4 separate regions of the Homo sapiens genome follow, and regions 2, 3 and 4 are each linked to region 1. The links are contacts of gene promoters, found by promoter capture Hi-C in human tissues and cell types (Jung and others, 2019). All regions are on one chromosome and are shown on one strand. The core of a region is centred on a gene start or on the middle of the fragment in contact, and the rest is flanking DNA. Distances in the headings are between cores, read along the strand shown.

What was found. Contacts are between HindIII fragments. The study calls those that stand out against the background at their distance.
Region 2: a contact is called between a fragment that was not itself captured here and the fragment with the promoter of CDH8 in region 1, in 3 of the 25 tissues and cell types used here (dorsolateral prefrontal cortex, hippocampus and mesendoderm cells).
Region 3: a contact is called between a fragment that was not itself captured here and the fragment with the promoter of CDH8 in region 1, in 2 of the 25 tissues and cell types used here (bladder and spleen).
Region 4: a contact is called between a fragment that was not itself captured here and the fragment with the promoter of CDH8 in region 1, in 3 of the 25 tissues and cell types used here (dorsolateral prefrontal cortex, spleen and stomach).

The regions. Positions count from the first base shown.
Region 1 is chr16:62,035,032-62,037,821 of GRCh38, reverse strand. CDH8 (cadherin 8) reads left to right here and starts at 1,384. Exons shown (of 12, transcript NM_001796.5): 1 at 1,384-1,742. LOC124903777 (a long non-coding RNA gene) reads right to left here and starts at 1,232. Exons shown (of 2, transcript XR_007065217.1): 1 at 1,045-1,232; 2 at 389-609. The HindIII fragment of the contact is 11,196 bases long and covers 1-2,790 here.
Region 2 is chr16:61,923,438-61,926,227 of GRCh38, reverse strand. All of the region lies in intron 2 of CDH8 (cadherin 8), which reads left to right. The region is part of intron 1 of CDH8-AS1 (CDH8 antisense RNA 1); the gene reads right to left. Among named protein-coding and RNA genes, the nearest start is that of CDH8-AS1, 6.5 kb to the right of the region's middle. The HindIII fragment of the contact is 3,202 bases long and covers 1-2,790 here.
Region 3 is chr16:62,143,003-62,145,792 of GRCh38, reverse strand. No RefSeq gene overlaps it. Among named protein-coding and RNA genes, the nearest start is that of CDH8, 110 kb to the right of the region's middle. The HindIII fragment of the contact is 3,741 bases long and covers 1-2,790 here.
Region 4 is chr16:61,966,944-61,969,733 of GRCh38, reverse strand. The region is part of intron 2 of CDH8 (cadherin 8); the gene reads left to right. Among named protein-coding and RNA genes, the nearest start is that of CDH8-AS1, 50 kb to the right of the region's middle. RefSeq lists an enhancer at 711-1,228. The HindIII fragment of the contact is 7,820 bases long and covers 1-2,790 here.

The DNA.
Region 1 (2,790 bases), core at 135-2,634:
CTGAAATAATCCACTAAGTTTCTTGCCTATGACAGCTAGAACATGAAACAATCAGATATTAGAGCTACAGCCAATACTCTTTTTCACATTTCACAATGGGTTGTCAGATGCAGCACACAAAAAAATGTCAAATTTGCATAAATATCATAAGCATGTTGTGCCTATTTTCTCATTCTGTTCACTCTTTCTCATTAATTTGAGTGAGACAGTACAAGCTCTACAGACTGTGCGTCTTGTCCCCTGCACCTTTTTCCCCCTTCTGTTCTTGCTCTGTCCCCAGATGGTAAAATCCACCCTCAGGCTCACGTCTAGTGCACACAGGGAAGGGACTAAATCGGGATCTCCTGTGGAGGGGAGGGTTTTTTTTTTTAAGGTAAGAATTTATTTGTCTTATATTTATCTAATTTTATTAGAAGATGATGACTGTGGCATCGTCTACATGTTAGCCCCAGTGTTGAAAAAGAAAAGAAATCTGGACCTCCTGATTCATGGTCCCTTTTACCCCAGGGTGGCCATTTCTCAAGATCTGAGCGCAGCCCATCAGAAGACTTGAAGTGACCACAGACAGGGCAGGTCTTGGTGGAGGCAGGAGAACCGCAAGGATGGTATCTGAGAGGATATGACAAGATCAGGGCACATTGAGAAGACCTAGAAATTCCTCCCCTATTTCCCAAGCAAGTTCTGCTTTGCCTGCCCTCCTCCCCACAACCAACTACTGCGCGCCCCTCCTGGCTGCCACTCTGCTGTCCCTCATCCCATTTTCCCAAAGGAGCACGGGGACATCAGGAATGCGCTCCATCACAGAACCGCGACACACAGCCTCTACATAGCGTCTGAGTTGCAGGCAGGGGTCTCACAATCACCCTATTCTGTACGCAAGAGGCCCTTGGAATAAAGAGGAGGTAAGCTGCCCACGCTCAACCCTTTGCCCTGTCGCGTCCTCTTCCTCCTACGGAAAATAGCTGCGGGTCACTGAGACGCTTTTCAACATAACGCCAGCCCCAGAGCTCAGGTGAGACCTCTAGAGAGAAAGCTCGCAGGTACCTCATCCGCATGCTGTTATTATCTGCCAGCCCACTTATCCAGGAGCTCGGTCCTCAGCGGGCTGCGCGCACCGCGCGGAAGGGCGCATCTTCACCTCGTGGCTCTGGCGGCAGAGACGCGCGGGGCTTGCTCGGGAGCGAGGAGCGAAAAGTTGTGCGCCCACTTGGGTAGGGGGAAAGAGAGCGATCGAGCCAGCGCGGGAGAGCGAAGGGGGAAGGCGGGGAGGGGGCGGGGAGGGGGGACTGCTTACATGAATTTCCAAGTGGTAGACCTGCCTCTGCGCTCTGCCCAATGAGATCCGTCAGGGGAGGCACCCGGCTCACTTTTCCACATCACTTCACAGTTACATTTGGCAGGCAGGCGGGCTCGCACGCCGGAGCGCTCAGCCCAGAATTAGTGGATTTATTTGGAATCTCCCTGCCTCCTCCAAGCTCCGCCGCCGCCGCCGGCTTGTGCATAGACGGTAGCGTCAAGACACCAGCTGCACTTTGGGTTGCGGACACCCAGAGCCCAGCGCGCCCGCCCTGCGTCTCCGCACCAAGCCCTGTAGCTCCGAGAGGCATGAACGGAATCCGGAGGCGCCTGCCTAGCGAGCGAGGACCGGTCGGCGCTTGCCGCCCTCGGGAGCTAACCCCGAGCACCTCCAGCCATTTGTGAACCTGGAGGCTTGACATTCGCCAGCGCAGGGCCCCACAAGAGTAAGTGTTCCCCTAACCCACCCCCGTTTTCCTCTATGTTCCGACTATCCAGAAGGGACCGTTTCTTATAGGAATTCCCATGCCCCTTCGGACACCTTGCGCGCCTCCTGCCCCTCAGATGGTGGATGAGGGTTCTTAGCATAGGCTCTGGGCTAAGCTGTGTCTTTCGCGATATCCGTGGGTGATAACGTACGTACGCCTCAAGGTTTTGCCTGACTGTTTTTGCAAACTGCTTTGACAACAGATCCTAGAGAGTAGCAAGCTCCAGGCTGTGCCCCTCCAGTTTTCCTGCCGGTTTCCTTCCCTGCGGCGACTTGGCTATTTCGCCGCTTCCCAACGCAGGCAGGCGCGGCTGCAGCCGCGCGCCTTCACTGCGGGGTCCGTGCGGTGAATGGGAAGCACCTGCAGCCCGCTGTGCGGAGGGTGCAAGCCAGGGAAAAAAGGAGGCGAGGGGGCCCGAGTGGTCTATGGCTGGTTTTCTGCACCGCCTCATCTCCGAGGCGAGGGAGGGCGACCCCCGCGGCAGGGCTGCGGGCCAAGGCTCAGCTGCGAAAGCCCCAGCGCGAGGCTTTCCCACAAGTGGCAGCTCCAGCTCTGGGAGGTGCGGTGCCCGCTACAAACTTGCCGGGCTCCGGAGTCGCCCTGCGGCTCTGCCCTCGCCAAGACGCTGCCCAGCACCCCTGCAGGACCCCCAGGCAGTGTCTCCCCGCAACTCGAGATTGCGTGCACGGAGGCCCCCTTAAGCCGGGGACTCCGTAGCCGCTCTCCTAGGGACAGCTGAGCCCAGACCTGCGCTTTCTGTGGTCTGGCCGCTTCTCATCCGGGAACCTTTGAGGGGCTGGTCGCGCCCCTCGCAGGATCGGAGGGAAAAAGGCTCTTGCCTAGGTTCTGCCAGTACGTAAGAGGTTCATAAGGGACCTACTCCGGTTCTCCCAGGATCCAGCCAAGGCTGGGAAACGGTAAAAAAACGTGCTGCCGCCAACGCTGATGCCAACAGGTATCCACAATTTCCTCCGCTTATTCCTCCCAAACACCAGAGCCTTCCCCC
Region 2 (2,790 bases), core at 91-2,590, 110 kb after region 1:
TAGATTTTATTTTCCCACTTGTAAGGTAAATGTATACACACACACACACACACACACACACACACACACACACACCCCTTCTGAGTCCCAAATCAACATTTTATGATTCTGCTTCTTATTAGTTTGTGTGGCTTGGAGCAGGTTACTTATCTACTCTGAATCTCAGATTTCTCATTGATCAAATGAGAAAAAAGAAACAACCTTGTGAAGGTATAGTAAGGATGAAGTAATGTATGTAAAGCAATTTGAACAGTATATGGTATATAGTAGATTCTCAATATACGTTTATTGCTTTCTTCTTTCTCCATCTTTTCCTCTTTTCTCTGCTACTTTCTGACCTGATCCTGGTTGGAGTCACCTTTGAAATAATAATGTTAGAGACTCTGTTTTGCTTTGTTGTGTCCTGCTAAAAAAATACTTCAGAAGTCAAAACATTTATGGAGTAAGTGGATATTTACTATGAGTCTTGAATTTAACATTTTATGACATACATTTCCTCAAAGGAGTAGTATATTGTGCTCTTGCAGATGAGTGACCCTACTTTAAACTCCCCTTGAAATTCATGTTGCTTGATGCTTTGAAATGAGTGTGGAGTGATTCTTCTGTAATTACACATGATGCATTAATTATTTCCTAATGAGGCCTAATGGAGAAAAATAGAAATAAAACAAATTGTAATAGCACACTCCTTTAGCTTCTCTAAAGTCATCAAAGTCACATCTCTAACAGTAAAAATAATGTTTCTCCTCCTTCTGATAGCATCAATTTTGGTGAAAGGTGAGCCTTGTGCTTTTGAGCTACTCAATATTTTCTGTAATAATATAGTATTTTATTGAGATTAATTCTTAACTGGGGTAAGGAGAAACAATGAGTATCTTGATTGCCATTAGCTTCTCAGTGTTCTATTAAAACAACCACAACAAGAAAAACAAAATCTTGTTTGCTCTTCTTATTTTATTTTGTCTTGTAATTTAACCAGCGTGGCCATGTCTGATTGGCTTTTGACAGTGTTGCCACCCTGTGGTCTCACCTGCTTTAATTGGACAATGGCAGTTTTCAATTAGTGTAAGCACAGCTTCTTGGACTGCCTCAGCAATTTTTCTCACACATATATTGTAATTATGTGTGTACCTCAATGTGTGAGACTATAAACATATGCTATATGATTGAATAGGAGTGCTGTCAACACTTTATTTTAGGAGCGTATTAATTATGACTGAATAATAATCTGGATGCTAATACAGAGTAACACCCTCTACCTGGTTGATATTTACATTACCAACTGCATCTCATTCTCAGAACGACGAATTTCAAAGTACGGAACAATTAGCAACTCTATGGAAATCCTACATTAAGAGTGTCTTACAAATAATCCTCCTCAGGACAATTAACAGCTCTTTATTTAAACCGTTTTTATTTATTGATTTATTCTGCCCAAACAGGAGGAGAGGCCAAAAATAGAAGGTTGAATTTTAGAATTGCAGTAACTAAAGATGACTACGTGGATAAGAAGGTTTTTAGTTTAAGTGTTTCTTTTAAAAAAAAAAACAGAAACTAATATTCATTTCTTCTGATTATATTGTTCCATCAATCACCAAGATCCTGTATATTCATGACTGCAATTTTTGAGTATGATGCTCTTTAACCTTCACACGAGAACACACTGATGAAGTCTAGCAAGCTTATTATTTTCAACAACTTTCAGTAGTGAATGTAGAGGTCAGAGGTGGGGAAGGAATTTTGTTATTAAATATCCCATGTACCTGTGTATCTGGGTGAGCAGGTAACTTTGGCCTGATATTTAACTCTGTAAGAAGAATGGGAATCTGCTATGGCCTCTAACAAGATGATGCGTGAGAACCTATAGGCTGTGCACACAGTAGAAGTATTATAAATAATTGTTAAAGGGTTGTGTATATTTCAACATAATCAAGTGTTTTAGTATTCAGAAGTGAATGTTCAAAAGTCCCAAAAAATGTTTGGAACCTAAAATTGATTATTCCCTAATGGAAACATTTCGAACCACTTATTAAAAGTGGCATTGCCAAATAATACCATCCCACTTAGAGTATCAGGATTAAAACGACAACAACACAACAACAACCACAGAAAGGAATAACTTTTTGATCTCGAAGTCAGCGGTCCTCATAGTGTGGTGCCTGGATCAACAATATTAGCATCACCCAGGAACTTCTTAGAAATCCAAGTTTTTTTTTGGTCCCATCCCAAAATTGCTAGAGAGGGCCCAGTAATCTGTGTTTTTACTTATGATTCTGATACCCATGATTCTGATGCTTGCAGAAGTTTACCCTGTTCTAAAGAGATATATATGTGTATATATTTAAATATATATAGTAAATATATAATATATTTAAATATATACACAAATATATACATCACATATATAATATATATTTAAATATTATATATTTATCACATATATACATCACATATATTTATATATATTTAAATATATATACATGTGATGTATATATATATATATCCTCTAGCCATCTAGATTGCCAGGGCTTCATAATAACCTGAGACAATATTCACCTGACAATATTCTGGTCAGGGAACTTGAATATGCCAGCTTTATGTTGTATATGTGACATATAGTATTTCACTTATTATTCACAACAGTTCAAAGAGGGAAGAGTTTATTTCCTCATATCTAAAATATTCATTAAATTAAAGCAAAATAAATTTGACTTTCCTGTGGTCATACACTGAAGCTTTCAGACCCATGTTTTGTGATGCCAACCCTATAATTTTTTCCCAAACGTTATG
Region 3 (2,790 bases), core at 159-2,658, 110 kb before region 1:
GTATTAATACATTTATGTCACAGAGAAAATTGCTGATGTTTATATAGTTATTCAAAGTGTGTTTCACAAACTATTTGCCGGTATTTCTCTAATTTTATGTTATGGAGGCAATGGAAATTTACAGGGTTGACTGATACAAAGTATGTAGGAAGTTGTATTAGTCAGGGCTCTCCAGAGGGACAGACCTAATGAGATATATGTATACCTGAAAAGGAGTTTGTTAAGTTGAATTGTCTCACACAATCACATGGTGATCCCTGCAAGCTGAAGGCAAGACAGCCAACAGTGGCTCAGTCCAACTCCCAATGCCTCAAAAGTAGGGAAGCCAACAGTGCAGCCTTCAGCCTGTGGCCAAAGGCCCTAGCGCCCCTGGCAAACCACTGGTTTGAGTCCAAGAGTCCAAAGGCCAAAGAACCTGGAGTCCGATATTCAAGGGCAGGAAGTATCCAGCACGGAGAAAGATGAAAACCGGAAGACACAGCAAGCCAGCTTATTCCACCTTCTTCTGCCAGGTTTTGAAGCCATGCTGGCAGCCAATTGGACTGAGTCCACCCTCATTGAGGGTGGGTCTTCCTCTCCCAGTCCACTGACTCAAATGTTAATCTCCTCTGGCAACACCCTCACAGACACACCCAGAAACAATACTTTGCCTCCTTCAATCCAATCAAGTTGACACTTAATATCAACCATCATAGAAGTCTACCTCAGAGAGGTTCGTTCAGTAAGAGCTCTACAAAGGGAGAATATTTAAGCAGAACTTTTCATAGTAATGAGTCAAGCTTGAAAAGGTCACAGGGAATCACATTCAAAATAGAGCCACTGCCAAGCGCAAGACCCAGAGGCAGGGACAAGCTTGGCATGTTCCTGGAACAGGAAGAATGCTAGTGTGTCACTTAGCATACTCAGTTCTGCCTGATGCCAAATCTATACTATTGATACTACACCAAGCTACCATGAAAAGAACATGGAGAAAATATGAGAGTATTCTTTATTTTCCTGAAGCAATTGATCACTCTTTTCTTTAGGTCACTAAATATCCACTGATCATACTTTCCTTTTCTTTCCGAGGTCTTCACTCAGCAAATGGAACTCTATTTTCCAATCTAACATACATACATGTTGCTAAAATATTTACAAAAAGACAACATCTAGTTTATATGTTTTATGAAAAATTTCATTTTCAGGAAAAAAGGATGGCTGGATGGATATTATTTTTATTTCCAGGAATTCTGTTTCCAGGAATTTTACCTATGTTCTTGAGCACTTTTGAGCAACTTAAAATCGCAAAGACCAGGACTCTAAATTATGCATTATTGTGAGTATTCATTGCTTAATCATGATTAATAATCTTCATCACTAGTTCTAGAAAATTGAGTCTATGAAATCTATTCTTTTTACTATTACTATTATTAGCACATTCAATCATTTGCTTCAAGAATGGTATTATTACCATTGTGTGTTATTTTTTTTAAAGATGAAATACAGTAAAATTTATAAATAATAGCATGAATCATCTTTTTGTTTAAAACGGTGAAATTTCAGAAAATTATGATTGAAAAGTTGAATGATTATACAGTAGCTTAAAATATACATCCAATAGCTTATATAAGAAGTGTAAATGCATTATAAAAGGCAAAGAAAAGTAACAAAGTACAACACTCAGAAGAATGATTTTACAAAAAATAAACTTTGATTTTCCTTTTGCCTTGTATTTCTTACCACTCTAGATCATTTAGGATATCTTTGTAAGATATATGAATGTCTGTAAGCCATCTTAAACTATGTTTATTTGCTTAAAGAAAATTAAATAAGTTAGAGCTGCACTACACTTAAAAAATACAATAATGAGATTGTAGGTAAAATCTAGTATTAAAAAAGCAACAAGCAGAACCAATGCTTTTGTGCTAAAAGTACACTAAACTAAGAAGAGAGAAAGAACTCTTGGATCAGATGGCTCACACCTTATTCATGAACTGGTAGAATCTCTGGTTGTTCATCTTATAAATTTCATTTCTGCTCATGATGTGTAGTAACTTTCTTCTCAATTTAAAAAGTACAATAATAATCATGTAATTTTGAGATGAAAAAAGAGAATCCCTGTGGCATTTGAATGCTTTCTCCACTCCAGACATTGTTTTCTAATTCAGGAAATTGAGAGCTATGAATATGTGACCTCTAAGCATCCTTTCAATTTTGACATTCCCAGATTCTATATAAAACCAGACTCTCAAATAAACTGTCCCTAAGAATGACGGCATAATTTTGCTTTCGAACATCAATAGTTATTTATTCTTAACGTATGTCCTTCAAGAGTGTAGAGCATAGTGCAAAAAGTCTTGGTAGAAGTGTTGAGGCACAATAGTGCTCCCATCCCAGCTCTGCCACTGACAAGCTTAAGATATTGGATAGCTCACTTAATTCTGCCAATCCTCATTTATTAAGCTGAGTTGAAATATTTTTTCTCATTATAAATGAGGAATTTCAGTGAGAGATCAGTAAGTTGCTCTTAAAATGAATGTTAACAATAATTATAGCCAACACACAATGAACACATTCTCACTAAACAAAAGACTATAAAGTTTTCAAATCTTGATTTGCTTTTTCCCTTTCGAAATGTGGAGTGAGTTATGATGGCTACTTGGCATACTTGAAGCCCTTCAAATTGTCAATTCCTTGCTCTTTCTAAAGCTCTGGAGGTCTGTTTTCTCTGAAATGTTTGTTTCTTTCAATTTGTAGCTCTCTGTAGGTTCCCGCACTCAGAGCATAAAATAAAAAATACAAAGAAAAGTG
Region 4 (2,790 bases), core at 123-2,622, 68 kb after region 1:
AAGGGGAATGCAATATTTAGTAAGGGGATCAGGAATGAGACTATACACATCTTATTCCACCGGTTGTCCAGTACACAGTGAATCTATCAGATGGTCAGTAAATCTTTGTTAAATTGATGAATGAAATGCATTGGCAAATAATATAATATCTAATATCTCTTTATATAGATAAATGATCATATTTGGATGATTGTCTGATACTGACCGAAATAGTCTGTTAGAGCTGGGAGAGGCATCGGAAGTTATTTAATACATTCCATAGATAAGCCCATGTAGGGCTTCTCTGCACTCTGGATATTCTGTCATGGATTTCAAAATAAAATGTAAGCACTATTCAAGAAACCAGCTACGTGCCAAGAAAGATTCAGAAAGGGAAGATTCAATCTACACTGAATCCGTTCAATGATGGGTCTGCCATTGGAGTTAGCTTTCTGAAGTGGTTTTCTGTGCTTGTTTCTGGTTATGTTCCCGAAGTTCTGAGAATTCTCACTGTCAGATGCCCATCCTCACTCCACAGCACTTACTCTGAGAACCGGGAGTTCTATTTGTTTTGAGTCATTCAGATCATTATTGCCCATATAAGGGGAAAGAGATAGGGCTTTTTAACACATACCAACACCATCGCTTTTATTTCTGTTTCTCCTTAAACATGAAGCTCTGACTGAGAAGGTTTTATTTCAGTTCCTTTTTGTGTAAATCCAAACCCTAGATCTGTGCATCTCAAGAATCTTGGACTCTGAGCATTCTGCTATGGTCTTTTGCCAAGAAAAAATAATCCATATGCAGTAAAGGGAAATTGGGAGATGTCCTCACCCTTTCTGGGAGCAGTGGAGAACTTGTTTTAGATGAGCTGCCTGCACCTTGTCAGGCTTCACGCCGCTTTCTCAAGCAGCACTAAAGGAAATGAACTAATGATAGCTGATGCTTGTGATCGGCAAACTCCCTCCTGCCGCTTAGAATTGGAATGTGAGTGAAAGCTGTGGGGGCCTGGGCCAACCCTGACAGAAACAGGTTTTTAACAGCATGAATTTATGAATCCAGTCAATGCAAATGAGAGTTTATTATGCTTGGAGTCTAAAAAACGATGCCTCATTTATTAAATTAAGCTGCAGAAAGTCTATTCAGATAATGTTAAATGGTAGTTTTTATACTAAAAGCTAGGCTTTTCTTTCATCGATTCTGCTTATTTGATAGTGTTATTTTATACTCTGCTTACAAGGGAAGGGAGGATAAAGACTTGGAGATGGAGAGGATTGTGATTGCAGCCAGGTAACACTGGATTTGACTCACCATTGTGCCCTTTACCTGTCCTAGGTCTCACAGCTTTTGAGAGAACCTTTATCACCTTTAGAATGGGCATAATTACCTAAGCTGTAAGATTGCAGTGAAAGAGTGGGAAAAACTTGACACATCACTCAATAGACGAGGGTGAATGAAAGGAGGAGGAAAAACCTTCAGATACTTAACCTGTTTCATTCTTTCTCACAGAGTAGTTTTTGAGTCATGTGCATAAATTTCTATTCATTTGTAATTTTTTGGAAGTGGATCACAGGAATTTGCATAAAACTACCCTCCAGGTAACCCTGATTCCAGTTAAAGAACCATTGTTCTTAAAATAATGATCTCTAGGCCCAGCCCGGTTGCTTATGTAATCCCAGCTCTTTGGGAGGCCAAAGCGGGTGGATCGCCCAAGGTCAGGAGTTCGAGACCAGCCTGGCCAACAGGGTGAAACCCTGTCTCCACTAAAAATACAAAAAATTAGCTGGGCGTGGTGGCGGGCGCCTGTAATCCCAGCTACTAGGGAGGCCGAGGCAGGAGAATTGCTTGAACCCAGGAGGCGGAGGTTGCTATGAGCCAAGATCATGCCATTGCACTCCAGCCTGGGTAACAAGAGCGAAACTCCGTCTCAAACGAAATAAATAAATAAATAAATAATCTCAATTTAAATTCAACTGTCGTATAAGTACAGATTGAGCATCCCTAATCTGAAAATCCCAAATCCAAAAGCCTTCAAAATCTGAAACTTTGAGAGAGGACATAATGCCATAAGTGGAAAATTCCACCCCTGACCTCAGTCACAGTCACAACTCTGTTTCATCAAAAATTATTTAAAATCTTGTATAAAATTGTCTTCTGGCTACATGTATATGATGTACATGAAACATAAATGAATTTCCTGTTTAGACTTTGTTTCCATCCCCAAGATAGCTCTGTATGTATATGCAAATATTCCAAATTATTTATAAAGAAATCCCAAATCCTCCTGGTGCTAAGCATTTCAGATAAGGGACACTCAACCTGCAATAAGAATATTTTAATCCCAGCATGAGATTTTTCACTTGGTTACTAATTATCGGCATTAACACATTGGGAGGAAATGTGGTGGTACTGGAAAGAGAGAAATAAAACCTACACACTATTTGCAATCATCCATACATGGGATATGTTGGCATGTCTACCTTTTACAAACTGTATGACTTAACTAGTATTTTATCTCTTCTAAGATGGCCATTCCTCTTCTCTTTATTTTTTAGGGACAGGATCTTACTCTATTCCCCTATCTGGAGTGCAGTGGCACAGCCATATCTTACTGCAGCCTCGGACTCCTGGGCTCAAGGGATCTTCCCGTCCCAGCCTCCTGAGTAGCTGAGACCACAAGTGTGTGCCACCACACTTGGCTATTTTTTTTTCTTCTAGAGAGGGGGTTTTGCTGTGTTGCTCAGGCTGGTCTTGAACTCCTGGCCTCAGGTGTCCTCCCGTGTTGGCCTCCCAAAGTGTTGGGATTACAGG